Linked DNA regions of Homo sapiens: region 2 is linked to region 1. The links are contacts of gene promoters, found by promoter capture Hi-C in human tissues and cell types (Jung and others, 2019). All regions are on one chromosome and are shown on one strand. Each heading gives the region's core, a stretch centred on a gene start or on the middle of the fragment in contact. The rest is flanking DNA. Distances are from core to core; before and after follow the strand shown.

Region 1 (3,026 bases), core at 426-2,925:
TTGAAGACGCAGTGAGCTACGATCATGCTACTGCACTCTAGCCTCAGAAAAAAAAAAAAAAAAAAAAGACTAACTTCAGAGCAATGTGAGAACTGACAAGGATTATAAGATTGTGGGGAAAAGAGGTATGAGACTGTAGGGAGGAAAGGAGGGAGTGGTTTTAGCCGGAGATCAAGGATGAGTAAATGATCTTAAATAGGGAAGAAGAAGTATGTTTCAGAGGGAAGGCACGTACAAAGGGACACAGGTACCTTCTGGAGCCATGAGTGATCAGCTGGGCTGAAGGCATGGCACCTGAGGAAGCCAAAGAGTCTGGAGCCAGAGAAGGCATTTGGACTCAAATGGGATCTATTGGATTGTACCCTATTGGCACTAAGGAACTACTGCCTACCCCCCGCCCCGGCTTCTCATGCAGGACTATGACCTAGAATTGGAGTTATGTTATAGAAAGATGGCTTCAAGTTCCCCTTTGAGGAGCTCCACAGTAAATAAGCCATTTAGGAGAGAGGTCCCCATTTCTCTGGACTCACCATTGCCTCCAAAAAAAAAAAAAAAAGGCTAAAATCTCCCCAAAAGAATGGCAAATGAACAAGGGAAGGAAGGAGCTATTTCTTAGTGTTCTTTAGACTTTAACAGAGTATTATGTACTGCTATTATTATTTTTTAGGTTAACAAAAGTAATACATTGTCTCTAGTGACTCCCTGAATGCTCCTTTGTAGCTTAATAGTTGAGGCTGAATGTAGCTATTCAGAATACCTGGACAGCTATGGATGGAAGGGGCTTCTCTAGGCTAACTTTTGCTCTCTTGTCTCCTGAATAATCTGAGGGGTGGCATGGGATGCAGTCTGTTAACCTCTTAGAGCCTGTACAACAGAAATACATTACATTTGACTTAATATGAACTCAACAGTTATTTAATGAGTCCTATTGTGGTCCTTGCACTGTGCTATATTTTACGGATATAAAGATAAAAGTAAGAAACAGTCTTTGTCCCTGAGAAACGCATTGTGAAATAAGGCTGGGTGAGTTGGCTCACGCCTGTAATCTCAACACTTTGGGAGGCCAAGGCGGGAGAATCACTTGAGCGACAGAGTTCCAGACCAGCCTGGGCAACCTATTGAGACCCCCTCTCTTCCAAAAAAGGAAAAAAAAAAAAAAAAAAAAAGGGTGCGGTGGCTCATGCCTGCCCCGTGCCTGCAGTCCCCAAAACAAACAACAACAACAACAAAAAACAAAAAACAAAAAGAAAGAGGAAAGAGAGATTTTAACTTAAGTATAATAAAAATTGCTCATACTATGTTAGTTGTATGAATAAAATGCTGTGGGAAATGTGGGAGTAATATAGCTCACAAGGTTGCTGTGGGGGTTAACAACAACAAAAAGCGAAATATATGTGTAAATGAAAAAAAGTCAGTTTTAGGCTTAATTATCACTGAGTAAACATTGCCTTTATATTACTTTGGCGATCTGCAGAACGCGCAGCCCTCGCCATTCAGGAGTTGTTAGTTCCCTAAGCCTCAGGTTTCTTTAGTCTGGCTGAACCAAAAGGAGTTTCTGCTTAGCTAGGCAGGGCCGGGGGACAACAGCTTCTGCGAGTCTGCGATTGTGGCGGCCGGTATATTCGGCGGTTTACGGTAATGGGCGGGCCCCAAATCCCCATGTGGTCCCGACATCATTGACATGGCGGAATCCCCCATCAAACCCTCCTGGTAGTTATTTGAGCGGCGGCGGCGGCGGCTGGAGGAGGAGAGCGGCGGCGGCGGGAGCAGCGAAGGGGGCGGCAGGGATCCTCCAGGCTGCCGGCTGGGAAGGCGTGGGCGACCCGGTGTGTGGCGCGCCCAGAGCCCCGCGTTTCAGCCCTAGGGAAGGTAAGGCGTGCAAGAGCCGGGGACTAGAGGAGACCGGGACCCCGAGCGCGATCGCCGGGTCCCGGTGCACTGGAAAGCCCCGGCCTGACGCCGAGTCCGCCAAAGTGCGTCCCTGTCCCGGGAGCGCCCTGGGCTTCCCGGCAAAAACTTGGCGCCGGAGTGCTGGGGCGCCCCGTGCTCGCCTGGGCACCCCGGGAACACGGGACCCGGGAGGGGGCGGCCCCCGCCTTGCTGGGCTGGGGTCCCCCGCCTGTGCCCCCTGCCTCAGGGTTTGGAGGAGTGAAAGAAACGGGTAGATTCCTCTTAAAAAAAATTGGGCAGTGGCTCGCGGCCTCCCCCCACCCCCAGCCTTCCCAGCAGATTTTGTCCGAGGAATCCGCTCCCCCTCCCGGAATCTCCGCGGCAGGAACGCTGCCCAGGAGGGGGAGGGCGGGCGGCGAGGCCGAGGAATCTTCGACGTGTCACTTTCTGAGGCTGTAGATTTCCATATGGTGGAGGGAAGAGGGCGGGAGTGCGAAGTGGGGCTGGAAGTTGGGGCCGCCTCTCCGCGCCGGCGGGGGCGGTCGGGGGCCTCGAACCCGGGGATGCTCGCGGGGAGGGTCCCGAGCCCGCGCCGGCCTGGCCCCCCCGTCCCCGGCTGGGCCTCTCCGGGACACTCCCCGCCCCGCTGCTGGCCACCTCCGAGCACGCCACGTCCTCCTCCCCGTCCTGCCCCCCGGGCTCCCCCCGGGCTGGGGGCGGTAACCGGCGGCCGCGGCCGGACTTGGCGAGCCGGCGGCTGGAAGCTCGGGCGGGGGAGCGGGGCGCGGCGGGAAGGAGCGGGCGACCCGGTGTGTGGGCCAGCGGAGCTCCGGTCAGTCGGTCACCCCGAGGGGCGCCTCGGCCGGGGATAGGGCGGGCGGGCGGAATCTGCGCCCCGAGGCGGCCAGGAGGGGCCGCGCGGACCGTCTGGTGCCCGCGGCTGGGCTGGGGCCGGCAGGCGTGGGAAGGGCCTGTCACTCTCGGCAGAAAGTGGGGCCTCGGGCTGTGCCCGCGAACTTTCCCAGAGGTCCGGGTCCCGGCGTCCCGTGGGAACCGGAGGACCCGGGCCCGCCGTCTCGGGAGACTGGGCTGCGCCGCCCGGCGGCGCCTTTGGCGGGGAGGCTTCCAGGAGTGCG
Region 2 (2,931 bases), core at 283-2,782, 600 kb after region 1:
CAGGCTTGTAGTTCTTTGTGAAGGATGCAGGCAAGAGGGATGTCCAGTTTAGACGGGCCCTGACAGCAGCAGCCTCTTCCACATCAAGTGAAGTGTGATTGTTAACGATCATTGCCTGCACAAAGTCATAGTTGCCTTTGAAGTAGTCCACCCAATACTTCACCATGACATAGCGGGGCAGGATTGGGGTGTTCACATTTTGCTGATAAGATGGTGTGTTAAAATCTAAAGCTTGAAGAACTGGATAAATTAAAGCTTGTAGTTTGAGCTTATTTTTTAGGCTGGCATCTTGAGTAAACTAGAGAAGAGGAAGCAAATACATTATTTCATTTTGCATGCCTTCTTTTATAGGAACCATACCCTGTAGAGTAGCTTCATGTGTTACTCTGAATCTGTCAATGGTATAAGTGTTACATTTCTACCAGGCACTGTATAAATAATAAAGTTTAAAAAATAATTCTCCATCATTACCATCACCACCCTATCAAGCTGCTAGATATTTAACTAAGAAAGGTATGATGTTTACAACTCAGTTTTGAGTGAACCCTGTACTTGTATCTATCTTTAGGCAGTTAAGACACCTAGGTATTATGAATGGATAATGTGTGAACCTTATTTAATTTTTTATTCCCTACAAAACCCCCAAAAAGGTCATGGCTTCCTAGGGGGAAAAAAATTAGTCTTATTCTTCCAGAAGAGAGGGGCAGAAAAAACTTAATAAGCAGATTATGAGACTCCTGAGTGTTTAAGTAGGACCTCAGGGTATGCTTTCTGGTGAGCATCTTCACGCTTGGTGAGACAGAATTTAAATAGTTCTGGCAATGCACCCTCCATTCTACATAATGAGCATATGCCAGAGTGAAGTTGTCATGGGAATGTGAATGAATCCCCTACCTCAACAGATCTCAGTCCCCCAACACCTCCCCACAGTGTTAACATTGCCCCATTTTGTAATTCTAGTGTGCAAAATTATATATTTGTCGTGTAACATCTAAAAGAAAGCTAACTAGTCATGAAGCTTCATAGACAACTAAATGATCTTCAAGGTAACTTTAGCCATACACTTCTGCTTCATACTTGGACTTTAGAAACCCATTCCCAGGTGAGATATGACTGCTCTCCAAAAGCAAGAATGGTCAGTAAATAGCACTTTGAATATGTGCCAAAAATTGTATACACATCACCTCACTAAGTCCTTGCAACAGCCCTGCAATCAGATGACACTGTCCTCGTTTTTCTGAGGCTCAGAGAGGTTAAGGGACTTATCCAGGGCCCCGCAGCACTCAACGGTGGGTCCTGGGTTAGATCCCAGTGCTGTCTGGCTTCAAAGCCAAGAATGTTCTCTCCACTGAGCCAAGACTCTCTTCTGACCATATTTGGATGGAAAACTTGCCAATGCCAAATGGAAAATCAAGTTCTTGAATTATAGCAAAAGAGTTAGAAGCCAAGGTACATCATAATTAGAATGACAGATGGTATTTGAGGACACCAAATGAAATTTGGAGGTGAGAAGACAAAGATGTCTTAAGTTACTTCATCCATAACAGGAAGAAAATGTGCTTTTTCCCACTTGCCAAAAAAATTGGGGTGCTATTAGAAGCTAGATATAGTTTTCAAAGAATTAAACCAGGTAAAGCTCATAGTAACTTGTAAGATAATATTTAAATGGCTGAATCGTTTAATTTCTTTCTTTTACATTAAAAAAAAGTTGGGGAAACAAATTTTAAGGTTTTAATTTGGCTCAAAGTTGTAAGGAACAATCTTAGGAACTGGAATTTAAGCAAAAATACTCCGATTTGCAAGTCAAACATGAAAAAGGAGCAGGGGATACTGGAGTTCCATACATAGCCCTGAGAAGCAAGGGATGTCAGCCCTTCTCTAACACTGACTGTAATCAGGGACTTTACAAAGACTCATAGGTGATACTTCCTCCAATGACTCATCTTCCTACTTCAACGAGATCTCTGAGAGCTCTACAAGTGTAATCACATGAACAATTTGGCCATCTAGTGACCGGCCCACCCAGCTATGCATTTGCCACACATAATGGAGGGTGTGTTGGTCTGCTAGACCTTGTCATGCACCGCTTAACCCACCAGCACCTTAGGACAGTGGTGTTACCTGTTGTCCAAGGGCAGCAGCCAGATTTCCACCAGCACTGTCACCAGAAATGCAAATTCTGCCTGGATCAACCATATACTTCTGTAAGACTTCTGGCTTCAGGAAATACTTTGTGGCCCGTACAACATCATGAATTTGCTCAGGAAAATAAACCTTTGGAACTAGCCTGTATCTGTAAAAACAAAAGTTGTATTCATTTAAGGCCTTCTCCAATTTTGGGGGACATTTAAAGTTTAGATGGAAACTGGTTCTTTTAAATCTGGAAATAGATAAGAAATTAATTCAATGGAATTATTGTATGAAAAAGAAAAAATAATAAAATATAAAAATAAACCATTTTCTTGCAAATCAAATACTTAGTTTAAAATGTGATGATTTTGTATTAGTAATAGTACTATTTTTCTTTAAACTATCAGCCACCAAACCAAACCTACTTACCACCAAGAACAACCAAAATAAAACTAACAAGTAAAAGGCGAATGTTCATTACAAAGACATGGATAGCACCGTAATAGATTTTAGAATTTTATTTCTGGAAGTCAGCATTCCATTCATAATGCCTCTGGGTTACGAGGTGACTTGGCAGGATTAACCACTTCATTGATCTCACATTTAATGAGTCCATCATTTACTTCATATAATAAAACTGTACTTCACTGGAGAGGTCCATATTAGCCTGACATTAAACCCAAGAAATGCATTCAATACCTGGAAGACTGTAACTAAAAGGCCGGTTGTTAACTCACAAAAGGGAAGCTAAGTTTTCCAGACGGCCTAGAGCAGGCCCTCGGGGATACTTCTGGGGCTTCT

The links. Contacts are between HindIII fragments. The study calls those that stand out against the background at their distance.
Region 2: a contact is called between a fragment that was not itself captured here and the fragment with the promoter of FNDC3B in region 1, in 1 of the 25 tissues and cell types used here (dorsolateral prefrontal cortex).

The regions. Positions count from the first base shown.
Region 1 is chr3:172,037,903-172,040,928 of GRCh38, forward strand. It overlaps FNDC3B (fibronectin type III domain containing 3B), which reads left to right and starts at 1,676. Exons shown (of 26, transcript NM_022763.4): 1 at 1,676-1,869. RefSeq lists enhancers at 1,496-2,163, 2,164-2,830 and silencers at 1,749-1,928, 2,069-2,168, 2,349-2,598, 2,659-3,026. The HindIII fragment of the contact is 8,271 bases long and covers 1-3,026 here.
Region 2 is chr3:172,633,795-172,636,725 of GRCh38, forward strand. NCEH1 (neutral cholesterol ester hydrolase 1) reads right to left here. Exons shown (of 5, transcript NM_020792.6): 4 at 2,122-2,293; 5 at 1-298. Among named protein-coding and RNA genes, the nearest start is that of LINC02068, 40 kb to the left of the region's middle. The HindIII fragment of the contact is 4,630 bases long and covers 1-2,931 here.